Regions from separate parts of the Homo sapiens genome. Here region 2 is linked to region 1. Evidence: promoter capture Hi-C in human tissues and cell types (Jung and others, 2019). All regions are on one chromosome and are shown on one strand. The core of a region is centred on a gene start or on the middle of the fragment in contact, and the rest is flanking DNA. Distances in the headings are between cores, read along the strand shown.

Region 1 (7,404 bases), core at 3,406-5,905:
TTAAAATAAAAGGGCCCAACAAGTGAAACCTGACACAAAGAGAGACCTAGCAAGTGAGACCTAACACAAGTTTCCTAGACATCTGGTGTAGGAAACAGGCACACCTGAGCACACACCTATCAGTCTAGTGAATGGTTGCGAATGTGGACTTTGAAGTCAGATGGTCTAGATTGAATCCCAGCTCAACCACTTCCTAGATGAGTGGCATTGAACTAGCCACTTCACTTCTTTGACATCAGTTTTCTTATGTGTGAACTGGAGATAACAAGAGTACATGTTCATAGGGTTGTTAATGAGATATTTGGCAATTAGGAAGTACCTAATAAATGTTAATTGTTATTATCATCATCATCACTATTAACAGCTAAATGAACTAAAGGTAAAATGAGTGATTCTGAGATTCCTCATTAGTAAAGTAGGGCTAATAGTCTATGGATTTACAGTATTCATTCATTGGACAAGGACTTATCTTCACATACACACTTGTTTTAGGGGATAGGAATACAGGGGTGAGCACGTCAGACATTGTCCCCTCATGGAGTTGACATGGAACGAGGAATGAGCAAGCAAACAAATAAAGGAACAAGGGCAGACAGCGAATGGCCCCCAATAAATGTTCCCTAAATATATTTTCATTAGATGGAATAAAGGCTGGAATCTTTATCCACACGGAGAGAGGAAGAATGTATTATTTCTACATTCCACACCTCTGACTCCTCTCTACCTTAGCCAGACTTAGACCTGGAGTTAATGAAAGAGGGGATGACATATGGCTTACGGTTCGTACCAATGCAATACTCAATTTGCCTTAGGGTTGGTGGTCATAAACTGGCCCGGCTCCTTCCAGGGGGTGCAGAGAGCTGATTTTCAATGTATGGGCTGTCACATACCAGCAAGTGGCTTAATCTCCTCTATGAGCCTCAGTTTCCTCATCTGTACCAATGTACCAACCAAGGTCACTCACCCCCTCTCTTCCTCACCTCCATAAAGAGAACCCTCAGGTACCCAGTTGTTTGGGCCAAAACAGTGGCCTCTTCTTTCCCTCCCACAGTCCACACCCATCCATCAGCACATCCTGCTGGCTTCACTTCCACTAGGCATCATTAACTGGTCCTTGTCTCGACTTCACAGCTTTGCTCCTCTTACTCCAGTGCAAGCATCCAAGACTCCTGGGTGCCTTGAACCAGCTCTTAATTAGACTTCAGGCTTCCTTGGCTACTCCTATAGGCTGTGGTCTACAATTGGCCAGAGTGATCCTTCTGAAAGAAAAATAAGACCTTTCAGGACTCCAGCTTAGTGTCTTTGCACTTTCATTTTTATCAGCCTGAGAAGCTCTTTTCCCAAAAATTGCTCTCACTTCACCCACCTTCCTAAAGTTGCACCCCCAAATCAGACTTTTCCCTTATTTTGCTTTATTTTTGTTCACAACACATATCACTGCATTAACAGATACAATTACTTGTATATTACTTTAGAGTCTGCATCCTCCACTAGAATGTAAGGTCCATGAATTTAGGACTCTCGTCTATTTTGTTCACTGGCAAAACCCCAAAATTTGGGCCTGACAAATAGTAAGCAAGTGACACCTATTTGTTAAATGAATGAATGAATGAATAAAATGTCCAAGGATAATAATAATACACCCCACGAGTGTGAAGAGGATTAAATCAGATAGTGCCTATATGTTTTAAGAACAATGACAGGACACAGAACTAAGCATAGACCTTTCTATCATTTTTCTCCCTTTTTTCCTTCTTCCTCATTTTTTAATCGCTAATAGTAAGCACCATAGTCAGGACTTGATACTCAGTTTGCGGGATGACCATAGCTGTTTCATGAGGCCAACATATAGCCTTTCTTTTCCATGTCCTCGGCAATATATACCCATATGTCCCGTCTACAGGTAGACAATGCAAGAAGCCTTTGAACTAAAATCACAAGTTCCACCCCTCATTTTATGCGATATTCACAATTTAACATTTAAGCATGAACAAAACAATCTGAAGTTGCCTCATTGACTTAGGAACCCTGAAACCCTGTGGAAGCAGCAGGTTTCCTCTTTCCAATCATTCTCCTCTCCCATAAATTATGTTAAGTGCTTCCATGTGCCCACAGTCCTTAAGGAATTCTGCAACAGCCTTTGAGGAGATTAGAAGCCTCTGATGTTCCTTATGAAATTCAGAAAACCATCTGGAAGTAATCTAAGTTAAGGAATTAATGATTTGGGGGTTAAATGATACATGACTTAAAAAAAATAAATACAGAAAACTTTATTAGCCCATGAACCTCAATTTTTGTGGATTTACCTATGAAAGAGAAATTGACTATATCATCTGTTTTATTTGTTTGTTCAGTTTTGTGTGCATGTTTGTTTGACTGCTCTTGAGAGGGACACGCAATAGATTAAATGGAGTCCTAAAGGAAGGTTTGCAGAGAAGCTTTCATTTGCTGGGTCTCCTGAAGGCTCTCACAGGGGATGCCCGGAGGCATCATAGTCTCAAGGGGCATCTGTGATTCAGGATCACCTGAAGACAGTGGCTGCCTTTGGGGTGCTGTGCAGTGAGCTTATCTGATTGAGAATCCTTTCCCCACTCCAACCCCATGTTGAATTAGTATTTATTTTGCTGTGGCTTGTTTGGTAGCCCCTGGTTTTGATTATTTGCATCACAGAGATGTAGTCCAGGACCTGACTTGTCTTTGCAGTAGGGACAGCAATGTTCTGTGCCAAAAGGAAAGAAATGATGTGGAAAGAAGGTACATTATGAGGCTGCATAGAACAGGGGAGTGGAGGGCACTTCTTTGGGTTTTTATTTTTTGTCCCTGTTATCCAATAGGGAGGAGAGAGGATAAGGCAGATTCCCATCCTCAGTTACAAACAATGGGACATGTGTATTTCTCCCTCATGCTGGGAACATTTAAATGAAAAAAAAATTATTCCCCGGTGATGTTCAGGCTCAAAGCACTGAGAATAAAACGTACCTTCCGTTTTAGGAGCCCAAATCTACTTTACAACTGCCCCCTGCCCCCAAGGTCAGGTCTACACTAGCTGAATGTACTGAAGAATTGGGCGATTATCAGCATAATCCACTTTAAAAATCAAGTCTCTGCTATCCAGGCCTATGAGAATCAAGCTTTTACCGTTCCCTTTGGGGCCTGGATAGTTTTCAAGCTGCCTTCTCCTCACATCATGTGAGTAGAGCCGGCCAAGAAAACCAGGGAGACATCTCCCCCCAGCCTGGCCCAGACTTCCGGGCCCCACCCCAGGAGAGAGCCTCCCACTCTGGCCAGTGCCCTGCAAAGCCTTCGCCCCACCCCGCCCCAATTTCTCCTTATGCCTGGCTCATTCCTTAGGGGCTGAGTTGGGAGATAAGACTTGGGGTTGCAGTTGCTGGGGATCATTCGTTTACATTTCTTTTCTTTCAATCAAGGACTTCTTTTTTTCTTTTGAAATTCTTTCCTGCACTGATGGTGAGAAAAGACCCCTCAGGCTTCCTTTTGATGTTGGACCGAGCCAGCCCACGGTGAGAGGGGATGCTGAGCCCGTGGTGAGGAGCTCAGGACAGGAGGGGACGTCCAGAGACCTCCGAACCCATGGCCCTTCATTCCCAGTCACAAGGGGGGAGTCGGGGTCCCGCCCTCAAACTGCTCAGACCACGCGTGGCAGAAAGAGCAGAGCATGAGCATCAGGAACCGCACAGGGAAGCCGCTGAGATCACCTGGGATCACCACCATGAGGGAGGCCAGCCCTGGAGAAATCAGAGGGAAAAGATAGAGAGAACGAAGTCGGGGGGGGGGGGGGGAGGGCGGATCTTCCTTGTCTGAGTCTGCAGAGAAATTGCCTATTGCAGGAGCAAGTCTAGAGAGGGGCTATTCTCCACCCACTGAAAAGATAATAAAACACATGCTATGGGCGGCGGGGAGATGATTGGGGAGTGGAAGCCCCACAGACATGCAGTGAAAAATGATCCTTTCTTCCCCTCTGCGTTCTCGTCCCCTTCCCAGAGACACCGCTGTGATCTCGTGCCTCGCCCCCTCCGCACACGCACAGGTGCACACCCGCATCTGTCTTGAGCCCGCACCCCGCCTTCACGCTCCGCTGCGCGCTGCTTTTCCGCGCTCAGTGATCCAGTTAGGAGCTCTCCCCGCAGCAGCTGCGCGGGACTTTGCATTCCAGATGTCCCCAGCCCTCCAGGCTAAAGCAGCGGCCACCTGAAGTTGAGGAATGGGGCGTGACGACCACCAGGTCCCGCAGTGACCACGGGAGGGTGGGGAGAAGGAGTCCAGCTCCGCCTTGAGCGTCGGGTCCCTGGGCAGGACCCTCCGGGCCACGGGCCGCTGTCCGTTGGGCACCCGGGCAGGAGTCTGCGAACGCTGAGTTTCTCTGGAAAGGCGCGGACCCCCGGAGGAGCCGTCCCAGCCGCCTGGGGAGACGCCCCCTCCTCTCCCGGTCTTCTTTCCCGGGCACACCCTCCCTAGCCCGGGCGGGGGGGTTCTCCATCTGCCGCCCCTCCCGGCGGGCAGGCGAACTCTCTCCTACCGCACCCTCAATCTGTCCGCGGTCGCGGGGCTCGGCGGGGGCGGGGCCCGGGCGGGGGCGGGGGCGGGGCCGGGGGCGGGGCGGGCCGGCGGCTGCGGAGGCTGCGGAGGCTGCGGGAGAAAAGTTGTCCCGGCCGGAGCGCGAGCAGCGGCGGAGCCGGAGCCGCCAGAGCCAGAGCCGGAGCTGCGGCGGCGTGGACCCGGCAGGGGCGGGCCTCGGACAGCAGAGACGCAGCGGGCCCGGCCGACCGGGCTGCGGGAGTGGCCCCGGGCATGGGGCGGCCGGCGGGGGCCGCGGGCGGGCGCTGCGCTTCGGGCTGGCGGCGGGCTGCGTGAGCGGCCGGGACGCAGGATGCGCTCCGAGGGTGCGGCCCCCGGGCCGGCGGCGCCGCTGTGCGGGGCGCTGAGCCTGCTGCTGGGCGCGCTGCTGGGCAAAGGTAAGGCCGGGGCGGGTGCCTGGCGCGCCGACGCATGCGAACTTCCCGGTTCCGGGGGAGCTCGGGGTGAGGGCAGCCGAAGCGAGGGGTGCGGCGGGGGCCTCGGCGGGGGCTCGGATCCCATCAACAGCGCCTCTGCGGGTGCCGAGCCGCCCCTAATCCAGAAGGGCGCTCCCAGCTGGGCGCCGGGATCCGGGCAAGTTAGGCTGGTCCCGAGTCCCGAATCTCCCACCCCGGACCCCCCAGACCCAGAGCTGCCCCGCGGATGAGGAGGGGGCGTGGCTGAGGGACACGGTGTTTGTTCCCCATCCCTGAGTTCCGTGCGGACCTGCCCCAGCCCCAGCACAGTCACCCTGTGGAACTGGCATCCAGGAGAGGTGCTCCGCTCTGTGCGCTCCTTCCTCCCGGCTGTGTGCTCCCTGTCCACAGCTCCCCATCCACAGCTTCGGCACTGTGGGGCTGGTGCTCCAGGAGGGAAGGCCCGGTTCTTTGCATCCCCTTTCCGCAACCGCTAGGGTCTCTGTGCGGGCCCTAGAGGAACGCTCACTCATCGCGCAGCTCACCAGGGACCCCAGCTTGGCAGAAACCAGGGGCTCTCTGCGGGTTCTCTCAAATGAGTCCTTTGCGGTGGGGGAGCGCGGATGGGGAGGTGGGTGCGTCCCTCGCGACGGGAACTACCTCACCAGCGGTCCTGTCCGGGGCTCCTTCACCTCAGTGTCCTCTTCTCTACAATGGGAGTGACGGCCCTGCTTTGGGTTGGAGGAATTTAAAGGAGTTAACGTATGGCGCCCGCAGGGCTCACGAAAGGTAGCCGTGTGGTTTTTCCGACCTTTTTTATTATGTGCGTGTGCGGCCGAGTGGCCGCGCGGATGCGGCGGCGGGAAGGGCGGGGAGAGGCGGTCTCCAGCCCCAGGAGCCGCGGGGCAGGCGGGGAGCAAGGCCTAGGCTCTGCCAGGGCAGCAGCTGCCCGAGTCCCGGGGCGCGCCCAGGGCGTAGAAAAAGGAGAGCGTCGCTTTCCTGCTCCCCGCGCCCTGGCGAAGGTCTCGGGTTCATTTGGTTAAACGGAGGTGCGCACATGGGTGCCCTGAGCCTTCGCGCGGCGCCGCGGGTCCAGTATCGGCCCCAGGCTCTGAGCAGAGAACACTCAAAGCCACCCTTCTCCCGCCTAATGCTCTGAGGCTGAGCTAGAAATGCGTTCAGAGAGACAAGTTGTCAATGGAGGTTTAAAAGTAGCGTTTGCTTTTCAAAAGTCATTCTGCACCGCCTGAAAATCCAGAAAAATCTACTTTCCTTGAGGCTGCGCTTTCCCAGATACACCAACCAGACAAGTTTGCTATGTTTTATATAAGTGTTCCTTTCTTCCAAGAGCTCCAGGTAGGGAGGAGGGTGGGGTGAGAGAGGGGGGGGAAGAAGGAGTGAGAGAAGAGGGAAAGAGAGGGTGGGGCGAGAGAGGGGGGAAAGGGGGTGAGAGACGAGGGAAAGGGGGGGCAAGTCGGGGGTGGAGGAGTAGGAGAGGGGGGCACTTTTCTATTTTATTTGAAAGAGTCAACAGTCACGATCTGGTGCCTGAATTCTGCTGTTAATTAGCTCTAGGTTCCAGCGTTTCTAGGATTCAGTTTTCCTAGATGCAAAGTGGCCATTGAAGAATTCCCTTCCCAACCTACCTCCCAGCAGTTTTTTGTTGATAAAATGACTGAATGGGTAGTAAAGCACTTTGCAGAGGAAGGCGGTGCTAATTGAGCAGGGCGTGACCGACCTCCTCCGGGTTTTCACCCCTTGCCCTTGAGAGAATTTAACCAGGCGAACTGGATGTTCCCTTTAAAGCAAGTGTGGACTGTTCTTCATTAAGGCTCACATTCCGTGTGTGTGTGTGTGTGTGTGTGTGTGTGTATCCAGAGGATTTTACTTTTGATTACGAGAGTGGCTGTTACAGATGTCCATGTGTTCAGTGCTGGGGGCAGTGATTTGGCTGGAAAGGCAACTGGGACTGGATTTGAAGCTGATATTTGCACAACAAGGGAAAGTGCTGAAAACTAGGGACGTAGCGAAGCCCCACCCCTATCCCAAACCGCCTCTGCCCTCTAGCTAAGTGCAACCTTGATTTGATGGGGCTTTCTTTCCCTGCTTTTTGCTTTACAAAGTTCACCACGTGATTTGGGGGTGCATAAGGGCCTGCAACTTATCATCTGCAAAATACATTTTCCGTTTGTTTCTCATGATCAAAAGCAGCAGTTCATTCCCCCCTCGGATTCCTCCACACGTAAAGCGTTTGCACCGTAAGATATCTTCTAGAGAGGAAAGTTTGCTGACCTTGTTTACATTTCTGCTGTCTTTAAAAAAAAAAAGCCATCTCTGTCTCTTCCTGCACACGGATTTAAGTGCTGATTTCTGGAATCCTTGAAACCACTGATTAATTTTTAATACCAATTGT
Region 2 (7,404 bases), core at 2,197-4,696, 57 kb before region 1:
GTTCATTGTGTTACCTCCAAATTTTTGCAAATGCCTAGAGAGTTAAATTCCACCTTTATCATTTATCCATCCATTCATTCAACAAGTTTGTGTTATGTGATTTCTCGGAGTCATCCACTGTTCTAGGCACTGGGATACAATGGGAAAGAAGGCAGATAAAGTACTTACCCTCATGGGACTTCTGTCTAAGACAAGTTCTCCTGGCCACAGGCAACTGTCTGTTTCTGGCTGCCCAATCAGATAATGAGAAGTGGAGTTTAAGGTGTTGGCTTAACATTTTAGATATAAAATGTTATCTCTTGGAACCATAACCTATAGCTCAAAGAGACATGGGAGGTCTAAGAAGTTCCTTAATTAGGACTCATGCTAATTCTATTAGAATTCTTTTTATTGTTTTTTCACATGGCTTCCTAGTCTACCAACAGTCAGGAAAATATTGGTTTTTACTGCATATGTAAGTGTGATTTGAGGTTCTTTATTGTTTCCCTTGTGTGTTTCTATTTGTTTTTACTGAAATATTGATTTGCCTACATATGCTATGGCAACCTGGGTGAGAAAACAGTCAAATTTATGCGGATTTCTGTTGTTATTCTTGTTGCTTTATTTGCTTTTCCTGCAAGTAGAGTGGGGGAGCTCATTCTAATTTTCATTTATTGCATATTGTGGCTTGCTGATTAGTCACCAACATCCTCTGCATTACAGAACTGGTATTTGCTTTCATAACAAAATATACAAGGTGTGAGACACCATTTACCAGCTACTTGTGATGTTCTTCTACACATTCCAGTGTTCACTGTTGCTAATATATTTCCTTTTACTATGTGATTTTATCATTTATTTCCAGGGCTGAAAGGCTATTATTTTATATACAGGACTGTTTCCTATCACATTCCAATAGAGAATATATTGGATTTACAGGAGCAAAAATCTATACTTTTTCTTCCAAAATTACTTCAAATGTATATATGATGAAAAGTATTTAGATTTTTTAATTTCCCTGTGAAATAGAATGTGTTGCATACTCTAGCATAGCTTACCAGTTAGCAAACATGTACTTCAGGCTTGATCTTCAGGGAACTCTGAAAGGAAGAAATCTCAGTGGCATTGAATGAGCACAGCATTTTGCATGAATTTTTGTTTGTTTGCTTGTTTGTTTGTTTTTGTTTGAGACAGAGTCTTGCTCTGTCACCCAGGCTGGAGTGCAGTGGCACAATCTCGGCTCACTGCAAGCTCTGCCTCCGGGTTTCACGCCATTCTCCTGCCTCAGCAGGAGGTGCCCACCACCATGCCCAGCTAATTTTTGGTATTTTTAGTAAAGACAAGATTTCACCATGTTAGCCAGGATGATCTCGATCTTCTGACCTCGTGATCTGCCTGCCTCAGCCTCCCAAAGTGCTGGAATTACAGGCATGAGCCACCGTGCCCGGCCTTTGCATGGAATATTTTATTAAATCTGCAAATAACCCTGAGGGAGGTTGGGAAGAAAGGAGTTGGCACAGAAGAGCTGTGCCTGCTATCCTTGGAAAAGATCTGCTTGCAAGGCTGGACCTAGGCTGGCATCTGGCAAATTGACTGGTCATCATCTCCCTACACTGACATAAAACTTATCCTAAATGATAAGGTGGCTCACTGCCATTGAATTGTGTCTACAGTTTGTCCAGTCTTACTCAACACCTGCTTTCTTTCTTGGAGTCTGAATTTTTGGTGCATAGCAGAGAGAAGATGTCTACTTGACTCATCCCCAATAAAAACCCTGGACACTGAGTTTCTAAAGAGTTTCCCTGATAGGTAACATTTTGCACATGTTGTGACAACTCATTTGCTGGAGGAAACAAGTGCATCCTGTGCGACTTCACAGGGGGAGAAGAGTCTTGGGAGTTTGTGCCTGGTCTCCCCTGGACTTTACCCCATGCACTTTTTCCCTTTGCTGATTTTACTCTGTATCCTTTCACTGTAATAAGTCATAGCTCTAAGTATGACTATATGATGAGTCCTAGGAGTCTTCCTAGAGAATTACCTAGTCTATGGGTGGGCTCAGAGACCCCTGGCACAGGTGTGTATTGTTATCATGGACATTTACATAACTGAGGAAGCTGAGGCTCCGGGAGTTTCCTGAGGCCACACAGCTGGGAAGTGGCACAGCAGGTGTGGCCTCCTTCAAAGTCTAAAGAGACTCCCTCATTCCTCAAACTGAGGATGTGTGTACTGCAGAACCCACACTCAGAACCCTGGAAGCTGTGTTCTGTCTCACTCATGACTTTCATTGTTCCTGCTGGTCTAATGCTTGTAGCCTGTCTTGGGAAGGATTCATGAAATCAACAAATACCAGAATCTGGAAAGGCAGAGGAATATTGATTCTAAATTCTAATACTCAACAGGGCCACCACTAATGGCTGTCCATGTTGTGCACTGCACAGCACCACCCTATATAAAGGGCCAATATTCACAATCAATCAATATTATAGATTTGCAATACCTGAGTCACCAGTTCCAAGATACATTTTTTCCCCATACTTTAACAGTCCTATAATTTGGAAACATTTTAAAGCAATGGCATCTGGCACTTGTAACTGGCAGCATTTTTTCACTGGTGGTTTGTAAAATACTGATAATTCTGACAATCAAAAGAAACTTCAATTTGATAAAATATAGCATTTGTTATGAAAAGTTTACCCCCCAATGGCTGTGAGGTTTAGACTCAGTGTACTAAAACAATTTTCTCACAGATAGTAGGAAAAGTGTCATCAGGAAGAACCAGAATTTTAAAAATTTTTCATAAGTACCATATGAGCTAGTGGTGATGCCAGAATTCAGGCAAACATAAAAAGGACTCACCTCCTATGTGCATGCAATTAATGTCCATAATTAAAGCCAACAACAGTATTTTCCCTTTCAATATTTATATACAATTTAACCACTTTACAATTTTTAAAGGTAATTTGCATGTTTAGTATTCTCTCAGCAGAACAAATAAAGATTGAACACACATTTTTTACTTTGATATATTGATGCTTCTATTTATTTTTCTTCATGTTGAATCCAACACAATGCAACACTGACTTTTTTTGTCATTGACACAAGTATTTCATTTCATGCCTCATCGATTTCTCTCATCTGGGCTAGAACTGGTCCCCAAAGTCAGACAGGGGAAGCCTGAGATTCATCCACCATTCCCATCTTGCAGGAGTTGGTGTCATATTTGGTGTCTGAGACATGGCAGCTCTGCTCTCTGACCTGGCCCCCAAGTCCTGCCACTGAGCTCTCTGGCCCCACCTGCAGATGGCTGCATAGGAAGGAACCACATGGCTTCAAAGGGAATCCCTGACCAGCACTGCTAGCCCTCAACATCAGAAGTTCTCATTATCACAGGCGCTTGGTGCCTAGTGGTGGGACAAAGCACTTCATTATCAAGGTGTTTTGGTACCCCAGCTTTCAACGACATCAGCCTTTTTAGCTCCATATTCCTTCACATCTGTAGCAAATACAACAACCTTAACATATCTACAAACCACCTGGCTTATGTTTAATTTTAATTACTCAATTGGAAAAAAAAGTTTCTCATAATTAACTACAAGTACAGTTACAAAATATCACTTTGTGTTTAAAACTTCTACACAGTTTTCCCAGCCAATGCTAACACACACACACACACACACACACACACACAAACCACTTCAGTTCTTAAGTGTATGTCTTTCCTTATTTATTTATTTTTATTTTACAATCTCTACCAGGTGTTGATCAACAAGATTATATTTTTAGAAGGCTAGAAGGGGAATTTTACAAATTATATAAGTGTGGTAATTGTCAAATATATAGAATTAAATGCAAAAACTATATATACAGGACCATATGATCCAAAACTGGGATCCTTAACCTCAGCCCTGTTTATATTTATTATCATATTCTACTGGAATTTATATTTATGATGTGCTGTTGACATTTGAGGACAGATGATTCTCTGCTGGGGAGAACGATCCTGTGTATTGCAGAATGTTTAGCAGGATCCTTGGCCTCTACCCACCAGCACCAACTCTCCCAGATGAGACCAAAAAAAAAGAAAAATGTCTTCAGACATTGTCAAATATGACCTGAGGGGACAAAGCCACTCCTAGCCAAAAACCACTGATCCAAAGTGATTTCTCATTCAACTGTCTAAAGTCAATGTTAACTGATCAAGGATATTCTTAGCCCCAGAATGACCATCCTAAGGCAGAGAGAATTGTACTCATGAAAAACTTATCATTCTCCCAATTTTGTAGAATTTGAACAGGTGTTGCTTTGCATATTGATTGCCATGTCACTTGAATACTTAGAGGCATAAAGTAACTTATTATTTCTGATGATTTATGATTTATCATTTCTCAGTGTATTATTTCACTGGAATTTGGACAGGGCTCTCCTGGGCGGTTCTTCTGCTCCCATGGCATTGGTCAGGGTCATTCACATGGTGGGACTGCATATCTGAAGCACCAGTGCTTCTCCAGGAAAGCAGCTTAAGGTTCCTTTCAGTATGGAGGTCTCTGCAAACTCAGACTTCTTAGATGGGATTATTGATGACTGTATTTGAAGACTATCTATCACAGAAGGCAGAATGTTTCTATATCTCTGATATATTTTTCTGAATTTAAATTTTATAAATCTGCTAAGATTCAAGCCATTCATATCTTTCTGTTGTTGCCTTTTTTTTCTGAAATGGTAACCTCTAATAGAAAAGTGACTCAGGATAAACGTCAAAGGCATGTTTCAGGTGAATCTGCTTAAAACACAAGAAGGAAGGAGTGTTAGTGAGGGAGTGAGGAAAAAGAGGATCTGAAAGTGTAGAAGGAGGTGCTATGATGTCTGCACCACACACAAACCTTGAGCCAGGTTTGGGTTTCTGGGCTGGGAAAAGTGTGTTAATTTCCCAGGGCAACTATAGTCAATTGCCAGAAACTGGGTCATAGGCTTACCATATTCCATGTTAATGGGTTTAATGTTTCCTCACAATTTGGAAGGCTAGAAGTCTAAAATCAAGATGGTGCAACGGCCATTCCACCTCCAAAGGCTCAAGGAAAGACCCCTCCCTTGTTTCTTCCAAGCTTCTTGGACTCCTGGCAATCCTCAGCAACGCTTGATTTGTGGCTGCCTCACTCCAATCTCTGTCTCCATCTTCCCATGACCTTCTTCCACTTCTTCATGTCTTCTCCTCTTCTTATCTTGACAGTGATGATTGAGTTTAGGGCCTGTCCCAATCCAGTATCACCTACTCTTACCTTAGTTACAGGTGCAACAGCCCTGTTTCCAAATAAAGTCTCATTCTGAGTTTCTAGGTGGACATAAATTTTGGAGAACACCATTCACTCAACTAGGACCGAGGGCCAGAAACTGACAGATCTGATTCCTTTTCTCAAGATCAACTTACTGAGCTTCTGGGTGCACAAGTGTATGGATTCATCGTCTCCTTGGACATTGCAGAATGGAGGGAACACAAGATGGGGGCAATGGCCAATGCTTGACTGTTGCTGCTATCCGAATTTTCTTGTCAGTGCGCATGAATTTGCATTTAAAGTTCCAAATCTTTCCTTTGTCATTCAATATATTCAAAATGGAATTTCCTCCCTGTGAGCCCTAATGTGGGGCAGACAACCCAGGTCTAAACAAGTCACTGCCATGTATTAGTACCCTGACACTGTAAGTGTTGGGTCTGAGATTTGACAGGCACTCTTGACTCCAAGATGTCTGTATACTTGATAAACCTGATTGTTCAGAGCCACAGCCATTCCAGCAACCCTTGCAGCACTTGGTTGTCCCCAAATGGACACTCATTTCCTTCAGTCCCACTTTATTGCCCTTAATCCCAATGATTAAGAAAAAAAATGGTCTTACAGAATGTGAAGGAGGAGGTTGAAATTCCAAAATAGAAATTTCAGGGCTCAACTTTAAATTAGTCTTCTTTTAACATTTTTAAAACTTTTAAGATGAGGCCGTCATGAGTCTGTCTGACCATGCCTGAGAATTACAGGCTGAGAATTTAGATTCACTTTATGAGGTGCTGAAATTATTTATAAATTGGAATCAAGGCATGGCAGCACTGGAAGCAGCCTTGGTGCTCATCTTGTGTAATTAATTTATTATAAAGATGGGACACTGAGGCCCAGATGGCAAATGCCTGGCCTGAGATTCAGGCAATCACAGAAACAAGACACTTCTGAGGCCTCTCGGTTCTCTCAACTTGGAACTATTTCCACCAGCATGGTGGATTTTAAAGCACGGTCAGTAAAAGCTGTTGATGAAATATTGATGGAGGAGGAAGTCACACAGGGCAAGCCCACACCAACAGATGCGTAAGGGCTGAGAGAAGAAGAGGAGGGGAGGGTGAACGTCAAGTCTTGTCCAGGAGCTATTGGAGGCTTTCCCTGAAGCCAAAAGAGAGAAGGTCCCTTGGGACAGGCTTGCATTTATACCTGACCTCCTTCCAAAAAAGAAGACTGTTTATGTTGCTGATAAATCCTTTAGACTAAATGGATGAAGCATACTCCCCTCTTTTTCCATTAACATACATTAATTTGTCAAAGAAAAAAGATATTTCTTCTAAGTTTTTAAGAAAATCTAACTTTTAAATTAAATGTCTCATGCTTATCTAGTCCAGCCTTTTAATTCCACTCAACTCAAGTGTAATGAGTAAGCTTTGGGCTAGACTTTCATAGCTCATGACCTATAAACAACTATAAGGTTATGCATTAGAAGAGGTGACATTTAAAGAGAGAGAAAAATCTTATTCAAAATGTGACTAGCCAGCACTGAATGTATTAATCCTCCAAGTACAAGGCTGAGGATCTTCTAAAACTTGGGGCCAGTTGAAAAGTGCTTAATCATATTGCAGATCAGCTCACACCAGGCTGTTAGGATACCCAAGACCTAAGGATCAGCACAGCTGCATCATTACTGGGTGTTGATTGTTTTGGTAGGAGGGACCAAATGGAATATGGGGAAGGCATATCCAGTGCCTAGAAGGGTTTCTGAGTTGATAGAAGTTTCCTGAAAACAAAATAAAATTGAGGAGGGTGAGAGTCACATAGACTCTGAACCTCACACTCGTGAGAAATATTTTAAGATTTTAAACTAGACTCCCCACCACCTCTCCTGCCTATTTCATCGTGAGAAGTGTCTCTTCTCATTGATCTTAGCCAAAGGACCGCAATGTCCTAGGGACACACACAGCCAATTTTGTAGTGATTCTGTTATAAATCCTTCCCCTTTTAAGAGATTTGGATAGAAAAAAATTAAACAACTTTCTGGTCAGGCATTTGTTTGTCAAAGTATCTTGAGTTAAAAGTCTGTTTTCTCAAAACCTCAAGCTGTTCTGCTGAAGAAACAATATGCAACAATATGAAACAACATGCAACAGTATAAAACAATGTG

What was found. The method cuts DNA at HindIII sites, captures the fragments that hold promoters and counts their contacts. A contact is called where the count stands out against the background at its distance.
Region 2: a fragment that was not itself captured here is called in contact with the fragment with the promoter of TMEM132C in region 1 in 2 of the 25 tissues and cell types used here (H1 embryonic stem cells and stomach).

The regions. Positions count from the first base shown.
Region 1 is chr12:128,262,515-128,269,918 of GRCh38, forward strand. It overlaps TMEM132C (transmembrane protein 132C), which reads left to right and starts at 4,656. Exons shown (of 9, transcript NM_001136103.3): 1 at 4,656-4,973. The coding sequence starts at 4,889. It overlaps LOC107987176 (a long non-coding RNA gene), which reads right to left and starts at 4,518. Exons shown (of 2, transcript XR_001749176.1): 1 at 4,057-4,518; 2 at 433-1,259. RefSeq lists enhancers at 3,802-4,323, 4,859-5,697. The HindIII fragment of the contact is 10,344 bases long and covers 2,785-7,404 here.
Region 2 is chr12:128,206,485-128,213,888 of GRCh38, forward strand. No RefSeq gene overlaps it. Among named protein-coding and RNA genes, the nearest start is that of TMEM132C, 57 kb to the right of the region's middle. The HindIII fragment of the contact is 4,855 bases long and covers 1,020-5,874 here.